Regions from separate parts of the Homo sapiens genome. Here region 2 is linked to region 1. Evidence: promoter capture Hi-C in human tissues and cell types (Jung and others, 2019). All regions are on one chromosome and are shown on one strand. Each heading gives the region's core, a stretch centred on a gene start or on the middle of the fragment in contact. The rest is flanking DNA. Distances are from core to core; before and after follow the strand shown. Region 1 holds the start of HAP1 (huntingtin associated protein 1). Region 2 overlaps EIF1 (eukaryotic translation initiation factor 1).

What was found. Contacts are between HindIII fragments. The study calls those that stand out against the background at their distance.
Region 2: a contact is called between a fragment that was not itself captured here and the fragment with the promoter of HAP1 in region 1, in 2 of the 25 tissues and cell types used here (H1 embryonic stem cells and IMR-90 fibroblasts).

Annotation. Positions count from the first base shown.
Region 1 is chr17:41,732,769-41,737,688 of GRCh38, reverse strand. It overlaps HAP1 (huntingtin associated protein 1), which reads left to right and starts at 3,046. Exons shown (of 11, transcript NM_177977.3): 1 at 3,046-3,523; 2 at 4,891-4,920. The coding sequence starts at 3,055. RefSeq lists an enhancer at 3,615-4,157. The HindIII fragment of the contact is 15,187 bases long and covers 1-4,920 here.
Region 2 is chr17:41,691,075-41,695,994 of GRCh38, reverse strand. It overlaps EIF1 (eukaryotic translation initiation factor 1), which reads right to left. Exons shown (of 4, transcript NM_005801.4): 4 at 3,327-4,920. Among named protein-coding and RNA genes, the nearest start is that of EIF1, 4.6 kb to the right of the region's middle. The HindIII fragment of the contact is 3,325 bases long and covers 943-4,267 here.

The DNA.
Region 1 (4,920 bases), core at 1,797-4,296:
CACAGTGGCTCACGCCTGTAATCCCAGCACTTTGGGAGACCAAGGGGGAGGCGGATCACGTGAGGTCGGGAGTTCGAGACCAGCCTAACCAACATGGAGAAACCCCGTCTCTACTAAAAAGACAAAAGTAGCCGGATGTGGTGACGCATGTTATTGGGGAGGCTGAGGCAGAGGCAGGAGAATTGCTTGAACACGGGAGGTGGAGGATGTGGTGAGCCGAGATCGTGCCATTGCACTCCAGCCTGGGGCAACAAGAGCGAAACTCCGTCTCAAAAAAAGAAAAAAAAAAGAAAGAAAGAAAGAAAGAAAATAAAACATGCAGACTTTGAACAAGGAGGAGAACGGTTATGTTATGAAAGTTCCTCCATTTCCAGAAGTATTCTGGGAGATAAGCTCTCTTTTCTGCACCTGTTTTCTCCTCCCTGAGGGAACATTTCCATCAGCATGTAAACATATTGTCCTCTCTCCCATCTTCAAAACACACTCCCCAGCACTCATGTCCTCCTTCAGCTCCTGTGCCCTTTTCCAGCTCTCCTTTGTTGCAGATTTCTTCAATACAGTTTTCTATACTGTCTCCCTTCCTTCCTTCCTTCCTTCCTTCCTTCCTTCCTTCCTTCCTTCCTCCCTCCCTCCCTCCCTCCCGCCTTCCTTCCTTCCTTCCGACAGGGTCTTGCTCTGTCACCCAGGCTGGAGTGCAGCCTCGACCTGTGCTCAGGTGATCCTCCCACCTCAGCCCCTGAAGTAGTACAGGTATGCACCACCATGCCCAGCTATGTTTTTTTTTTTGAGACGGAGTTTCGCTCTTGTTGCCCAGGTTGGAGTGCAATGGCGCAATCTCGGCTCACTGCAACCTCCGCCTCCCGGGTTCAAGCGATTCTCCTGAGTACCTGGGATTACAGGCACCCGTCACCATGCTCAACTAATTTTTTGTATTTTTAGTAGAGACGGGGTTTCACTATGTTGGCCAGGCTGGTATCAAAATCCTGACCTCAGGCGATCCACCCGCCTAGGCTTCCCAAAGTGCTGGGATTACAGGTGTGAGTCACTGCGCCCGGCCAATTCTTGTATTTTTTTGTAGCGAAAGGGTTTTGCCATGTTGCCCAGGTTGGCCTCAAATTCCTGGGCTCAAGCAATTCACCCTCCTAAGCCTCCCAAAGTGCTGGGATTATAGGTGTGAGCCACAGCGCCTAGCCTTCTTTCTGTTTTCATTTTGTTACCTCTCGTTATTTCCTCACTCCTCTTTGGTCTCTCTCACCCCCTCTACCAAGACCGCTCTTTTTTTTTTTTTTTTTTTTTTTGAGACAAGTCTTGCTCTGTTGCCCAGGCTGGAGTGCAGTGGTGCAATCTCGGCTCACTGAAACTTCTGCCTCCTGGGTTCAAGCAATTCCCCTGCCTCAGCCTTCCAAGTAGCTGGGCTTACAGGCTTGTTCCACCACACCGAGCTAATTTTTGTATTTTAGTAGAGATGGGGTTTCACTATGTTGGCTGGGTTGGTCTCAAACTCCTGACCTCAGGTGATCCACCTGCCTTGGCTTCCCAGAGTGCTAGGATTACAGGTGTGAGCCACTGTGCCTGGCCCCGCAAGACCGCTCTTGCCGAGGCCATGACCCCAGCTCACCAAGGTTGCCCATGACCCCAGTTTGCCAAGCTGAGTCTCTGTCCTCAGTCTTTGCCTGGCCCAACAGCACCACCCAACACAGGTGGCCACTCTCTACATGAAACATTTTCTTTACTTTCTAGGACCCAACTTTCCTGGTTTTCCTCTACTTCACTGCCCCACTCATCCCAGTCTTCCTTTGATGCCTCCTCTTCTTCTTTCTGCCCTCTGAATCCTAGGGGGTTAGTCCTGGGCGCTCTTACCTGTCTTCTCTCAGTCTCTTGGGGATCTCACCAGTCTCATAGCTTTAAATGGTCATCAAAGAACAATGACTCCTACATTTAAATCTCCAGCCCGGTCTCTCCCCTACATTCAGATTTATACATCTAATTGTCTACCCAACATTTCCAGTAGGATACTTAAAAAAAAAGTATTCTATTTATTTATTTATTTTGAGGGGTAGGCTCGCTCTGTAGCCCCAGCTGGAGTGCATTGGCACAATTTCGGTTCACTGCAACCTCTACCTTCCAGGTTCAAGCAATTCTCCTGCCTCAGCCTCTTGAGTAGCTGGGACTACAGGCACACGCCACCATGCTTGGCTAATTTTTGTATTTTTAGTAGAGACAGGGTTTCACCAGGTGGCCAGGCTTGTCTGGAACTCCTGACCTCAGGTGATTCGCCTGCCCCGGCCTCCCAAAGTGCTGGGATTACAGGCGTGAGCCACTGCGCCCGGCTACAGGGAGACTTTTAAGAGGCGTCTCCCAAGGAGAACAGGGGTTCGCCAGCATGGCAAGAGGAGGGCAAAGCGAACTAGGGTTGGAGGTGAAGAACAGTTAATCCAATCAAATGGAAGACGTCGAGTGGCGCGAGCACTGGGGTGTGAGCGCGAGGGTCAGGGTTGCAGCGCCAGGCAGGGTTGCAGCGCCAGGCAGGGTTGCAGCGCCAGGCAGGGTTGCAGCGCCAGGCAGGGTTGCAGCACGTTGGAAGCGCACTGGAGTTTGGAATGTCTCTCCCAGTCAACCGGGAAAGACGCAGCGCTGCCCTAATGCACTGGCCACCCCAGACCGTATGCACAACGTTGGGTTGGCAGCTTCTACACCAGGGAAGGCACCCGAAACCCCGGCGCGGCAGCTGGGGAGGGGCTGCCCCCAGCCAGGGACCCGCGAGTGCTGGGGCAGCCGCGGCTTTGGGCAGAACCATTCTCCGGAGATGGAGAGGGCAGAAAAAATCTTTCGCTCCCATCCCAACTCGGAGCCATCCGGAACTTGCACTCGCCCTTCTTGCCCTGCTTTTCTTACTGTGCTCTGTTCCGTCACCACTAGCTCCCCTCCCGCGCGGCTCTGAGTCCCGCTTGCCACTAGTTGCTTCTCGGCAGCCCCCACCCCTACGCGTGGTCCGGCCCGGCGGCTGGCGCAGGTTATAAAGGTCCCGCCGCAGCAGCGGACGGCAGACTCGAGATGCGCCCGAAGAGGTTGGGCCGGTGCTGCGCGGGGAGCCGGCTCGGACCCGGGGACCCAGCAGCACTCACCTGTGCACCTTCGCCCTCAGCCAGTCCCGCTCCGGAGCCCTCTGCGCAGCCGCAGGCACGGGGCACTGGACAGAGAGTAGGATCCCGAGCCACCTCTGGATCCCAGTTCCTCTCGGAAGCCCGCACCGGAGCTCGCCCGGCCTCGGAGGCTGGAGCCAAGGCAGGAGCCCGGCGCCCGTCCGCATTCTCGGCCATCCAAGGGGATGTCCGGTCTATGCCCGACAATTCGGACGCGCCGTGGACCCGCTTCGTATTCCAAGGGCCGTTTGGTTCCCGGGCCACTGGCCGGGGGACTGGAAAGGCAGCGGGCATCTGGAAGACGCCAGCCGCCTACGTTGGCCGGCGACCCGGGGTGTCCGGCCCTGAGCGCGCCGCCTTTATTCGGGAGCTGGAGGAAGGTAAATCGGGCCCCCGGGGTCCTGGACCGGGTGGGGACTGGGGCAACTCCAGGGAGGAAGTGGCCCCATCGGGTCCAGGCACCCCGCCCCCTCTAGCACTCAGTGTCACCCGTCCACCACCCCCGCGATGTCACTGCGGTGTCTGTCTGGTCGCCCCTTCTCCATCTCCTCCTCTGCTCTTGTCCCCTGGTTTGTGCCCGTGAGTCAGGTTCTGGGGCCTGCACGCTCGCCCACCCACCTCCACGCGCCTCTTGCTGCGGCAGATCTGCACCCCTTCAGCGCCCCTCTCCTGGGTCTACCGCAGTGCCAGGAGAGGGGCGGGGGGCTGCGGGAGGGCGCTGTCCCGCGCGCTCTGAGTCTGCGCTGGCCGACCGGGCTTGCGTGCGATGGAGGGGTGGGTGGGCGGGCGGAGGGGGAAGTTTTGCCCACTTTTTGGTTGCGGGTATGGGGGCAAAGTCGCGCTCTTTTCCTGCCCCTTGTCTCTCCTATCCTCCTGCGGGTCGGGGGAGATCTCTGGATTGGGCCTAGAGGCTCGAGTGTCTCCTAATCTGGTGAAGTCTTCCTCCTGTCCTCTGCACACGCAACAGGTGCAGGGTGAGTGGCTGCGTCTGTTTGTATGACCCAGGAGACTCCATTGCACTGCCTCCTGGGTAGGGGGTGATGAGCCAGTCTGAGGCTGTACTTCCCCTGGCTGTCTCCATTCTAGGCGCCAGGGACCCAGGTGTCCGGAGAGCCCAGTTTCTGAGCCTGGAGGACTGTGACCCCCTTACCTCAGGCTCCTCCAGGGGTAAAAAAAAAAAAAAAAAAAAAAAAGCCGGGCGCGGTGGCTGACGCCTGTAATCCCAGCCAGCACTTTGGCAGGCCGAGGCGGGCGGATCACTAGGTCAGGAGTTCGAGACCAGCCTGGCCAACATGGTGAAACCCCGTCTCTACTAAAAATACAAAAATAAGCTGGGCGTGGTGGCGGGCGTGTATAACCCCAGCTACTCGGGAGGTTGAGGCAGGAGAATTGCTTGAATCTGGGAGGCAGACGTTGCAGTGAGCTGAGATCTCGCCATCGCACTCCAGCCTGGAGGACAAGAGCAAGGCTTTGTCTAAAAAAAAAAAAAAACCAAAAAAAAAAAAAACCAAAAAAAACCCAAAAACCTAAAAACCCTGTCCACTTGGCCCTGGGAGCAGGGAAGGGAGTGTTGAGTGCCGAGGGGTAAGGGGAGGATGTGGGGGGCAGGAGGGGAGCCCAGTCTTCTCTCCCGATGACCCTTGTTGGAGAACTGACGATAGGACGGGAAACAGCTGTTTGCTGGTAGCATCTGCTCCTTTTTCCTGACCTGGCTGGGCCTTTTCTCCCCACCTGCCGCCTCCTGCAGCACTGTGTCCTAACCTACCTCCGCCAGTCA
Region 2 (4,920 bases), core at 1,356-3,855, 41 kb after region 1:
TTTGTCTTCATAACACCATCTTAAGAAACACTCAGTTTGTCCTTGCGTGTAGCTGTTGCAGCGTGTGGGGATGGGGGCAGGAGGGCTGGGGGGGTTTGGGGTGGGAGAGGAGGACTAAGGAGCAGAGAGCTGAGGGACCTTTTCAGCATAATCAATCTTTCTTTTTTTTGTTGTTGTTTTTGTTTTTGAGACGCAGTCTCGCTCTGTTGCCCAGGCTGGAGTGCAGTGGCACGATCTCGCCCGCCACCACGCCCAGCTAATTTTTGTATTTTTAGTAGAAATGGGATTTCGCCATGTTGACCAGGCTGGCCTCGAACTCCTGACCTCAAGTGATCTGCTGGCCTTGGCCTCCCTAAGTGCTGGGATTACAGGCGTGAGCCACTGCGCCGGCTTCCAGGTGCCTTTTCACCTCTGGGTGTGACTCTTTTTCTCTGCTCGAAATGCTTGGCTTCAGACAGCACCTCCTTTATGAAGCCTTCTTGGCCCCCTTGGCTGAGGATGGGAGTGGGGAAGATTTCGCAGTCCTCAGAGATCCTGTGGCTCTTTGGGTCCCTTTCTGTCCTGCGTCAAGGCTGTGTGCTGGTCTTACATCTACCTACCAGGCAGTCAGCTCCCTGAGTGCAGGGGGTCTGCCTGACATGCCCTGTAGTGTACTACAGATACCAAGCACTCAACAATCTCTGTAAGATGAGCATTTATTTATTTATTTCTGCTCCCACTCCACCGGGAAAATGAGTTACAGAAATTGTGAATGTACAGGTGCAGCTGGTGGGAGGAGGGGTACACAGGGAGTCCTGGGTTCTAGATGAGGCTCCACAACTTACCTTGGGAATGTCCACATCACATTGTTTTCTTTTTTTGAGACAGTGTCTATCTCTGTCACCCAGGTTGGAGTGCAGTGGTGCCATCTTGGCGCACTGCGACCTCTGCCTCCTGGGCTCAAGCCATTTTCCCACCTTGGCCTCCCCAGTAGCTGGGAGCATAGGCATGCAACACCACGCCTGGCTAATTTTTGTATTTTTTGTAGAGACAGGGTTTAGTCATGTTGCCCAGGCTGGTCTCGAAGTCCTGGACTCAAGCAATCTGCCTGCCTTGGTCTCTCAAAGTGCTGGGATTACAGGCATGAGCCACCATAACCAGCCATCATGCCTTCTTTTTTTTTTTTGGAGACGGAGTCTCGCTCTGTTGCCCAGGCTGGAGTGCAGTGGCGCAATCTTGGCTCACTGCAACCTCTGCCTCCTGGGTTCAAGCGATTGTCCTGCCTCAGCCTCCCACCTGGGACTACAGGCGCACGCCGCCATGCCCGGCTAATTTTTTGTATTTTAGTAGAGACAGGGTTTCACCGTTGTTGCCCAGGCTGGTCTCGAACTCCTGAGCTCAGGCAATCCGCCTGTCTTGGCCTCCCAAAGTGCTAGGATTACAGATGTGAGCCACCGCGCCCGGCCCATCATGACTTTTTAATTATACTTTTCTTCATTCAGCCTGAGATAGGTTACATCAGGTGGATAAGGGTGTTCACCAACTTCCTCAGTTCTGTGTTCACAGATACTTGTTTCGCTTGGCTTCACAGAGCTGATTTAATAGATGTTGATGGTTTAACTTGGAATAATCCCATCCTAGAGAATTGGAGGTCCTTAAAAAGCATGAGATGGAACAGCCTAGCACAGAACCTGGCCGTGTTCACAACCTACAGCATAGAAGGAATTCTCTTCTCTTGCTGTTTCATCCTGATTGTAGTATTTTGTGTGTTTGGCCTCCCGCCTTGCTCTAGAAGTTCCTCCAAGAAAAAACCTCCTACATTACAGTCAAATCTTACTGATTTAAAAGTCTCACCCAGCCAGGCACGGTGCTCATGCCTGTAATCCCAGCACTTTGGGAGGCTGAGGCAGGCGGATCACAAGGTCAAGGAGATCGGGACCATCCTGGCCAACATGGTGAAACCCTGTCTCTACTAAAAATACAAAAATTAGCCAGTCGTGGTGGCACGTGCCTGTAGTCCCAGCTACTCGGGAGGCTGAGGCAGGAGAATCGCTCGAACCTGGGAGGCAGAAACTGTAGTGAGGCGAGACCGTGCCATTGCACTCCAGTCTGGGCAACAGAGCAAGACTCCATCTCAAAAAAAAAAAAAATTCACTCAAATATTTTGAACAATGCCACTGTATTTGGAGCCTTGGTTGGCTCCAAGGCTAAATTATTTTGTGTTCATGAAACAGACTGGTTTTGTAGGACCTTTAACACGACAAGCTCCTGATGCTGGGGTTAGAATCATTGCTATAGTTTGAATGCTCCACCCAAACCAAAACCCATGTTGAAATTTAATTGCCAATTGAACAGTTATTGGGAGGTGGGGCGCTTTTTTTTTTTTTTTTTTGGAGACTCTGTCACCCAGGCTGGAGTACAGTGGCAGTGACATGATCACAGCTAACTATAGCCTTGGCTTCCTGGGCACCAGTGATCGTCCTTCCTCCTGCCTCAGCCTCCTAAGTAGCTGGGACTACAGGTGTGTGCCATCATGCCTGGCTAATTTTTGTATTGTTTGTAGAGATAGGGTTGTGCCACGTTGCCCAGGTTGGTCTCAAGGATTCACCCCCCTTGGCAAGTGCTGGGATTACAGGTGTGAGCAACTGTGGCTGGCCAAGGTGGGGTTTTTAAAGGTATTAGGTCCTGAGCCTCTGCCCTCATGAATGAAGTGGGCTCACAACAGTATAGGTTTGGCCCCCATTTGCTGTCCAGCCCTTCCACCATGTTATGATGCAGTAAGAAGGCCCTCACCAGATGCCAATGCCATGCCTTTCGACTTCTGTGAGCCAAATAAATCTCTATCAATTATTCAGTCTGCTGTATTCTAACACAATCACCTCCTAGTTTTAGGGCAGTTGCCATTGGCTCAACCTCACCAGCCCTCCTCCACAACTCACCTGGTTCTATGCTCTTTCCCAACCTGGGCTCTAACCTAACTCACCGCTTGTACCTTTATCTACAAAATGGGCTGGTAGTAAACTTAGTAGTCTTGCATTACTCAATGACAGGGACATGTTTTGAGAAACGCATCGTTAGGCGATTTTGTGTTTTCTACGAACATCATCGTGTACTTACGCACACCTGGATGGCACAGCCTACTACATGCCTAGGTTATATGACACAGCCTGTTGCTCCTAGGCTACAAACCTGTACAGCACGTTACTGTGCTGAAATTGTAGGCCAGGGGTGTCGTATCTTTTCACTTCCCTGGGCCACACTGGAAGAATTGTCTTGGGCCACACATAAAATACACCAACAATAGCTGATGAACTAAAAAGAAAAAAAAAAAAGTCACCAAACAAAACTCATGTTTTAGCAAAATTTATTAGTTCGTGTTGGGCCACATTCAAAGCCATCCACACAAGCTTCTTGTAGGCCATTGTAACACAATGTTAAAAGGTACAGTAAAAATACAGTATTATAATCTTATTGTGTAGCACGGCTGTGAGGCTCATTGTTGAATGAAGCATCCTTAGGCAGCACGTGACTGCATGCAGATATGTGTGCTGAAAGAACTTTGCCTTTTTAACTAAATTAATGGACCCAGGAACAGAACTTGGTCTTTTACTTGCCATTCATTGTCCTTCATAAGGGATGGCCTCCCAACACTTAACTTCAGCTCTTCAAATACTTGTCATTAAACCTTCTAATACTACAAACTTACTACCCAGAGTATACACATTCCTAGCGATTTGTGGATCTTAACCCACAGCATGAATGCCCTTGTTATAGCCCTTGCATTTACTCTCCACTCTGCGCCCTTAAACCAAGGCTGTTACTACTGAGGGGGCGCCAAGATTTCCAAGCAACCCATTCTCCAGGACACTGATTAACAGCACAGCATGACTCTGGCTAAATGCTTGCAAAAACAGTTGACCTGCTGGGCATGGTGGCTCATGCCTGTAATCCCAGCACTTTGGGAGGCCAAGACAGGCAGATCACTTGAGGCCAGGTGTTCAAGACCAGCCTGGCCAACATGGAGAAACCCTGTCTCTACTAAAAATACAAAAGTTAGCTGGGCATGGTGCCTGTAATCCCAGCTACTAGGGAGGCTGAGGCACGACAATTGCTTGAACCTGAGGTGGAGGTTGCAGTGAGCCGAGATTGTGCCACTGCACTCCAGCCTGGGCAACAAGGGCAAACCTGTCTCAAAAAACAAACGAACAAAAAACCAGTTGACCAGAGAGGGACAAGCTCATAAAGGTTTTTCTTGGCCAAATTCAGGCCCGTTGAGAAGCTGTGGGTGTGGACGAATCCTCCACTGCCCATTTCTATGGTTCCTTTATATGCACAAGATCGACTATATATAAATAATCTGCAAGTCAGGTATTTCTGAAAACAAGTTTTATTTAAATAAGGGTTTAAATACATTACACATAACATTAAAACTGAAGGGGAAAAAAAAACCAAAAACCAGTTTGTTACTTCACATGGCATTGGGCAGCTGCTGCTATTAAGTTGCAAGCTCTACAGCTAGCTACATGACTGATGGATCAGTTTGAGATTTGTTCCCTTGTCAAAAGTTTAACTCTGATAGAAGGTTGGCCTCACATTCTGATGTTTGGACATCCCTTAGCTAGGATATGTCTGGTCGAACAGACCTTTGTGGCAAGCCAGATGTCCTATCACCTCGCTAGCGGTAAGAGGGCCTCTTTGAGCTCTGTCCACCTAGTCAGGTTGGAGACACCAGGGGATCTACCACCAAAAGCTCCCTTCTAGTAGTACAGCTGGTGCTTCTGCCTTACCCCATCCTCTCCTCTCAGATTCACCGAGGACTGTTCAGGTGGTAACATTCTCTTAGGGTAGGGAACTCTGCAGAGGGAGAGCTGAGGAGGTTCCGGCCATAGTTGTTTGTAATCTTAGGGCTCTGGGCTTGGCTGAAACATGACGGTATTGCTT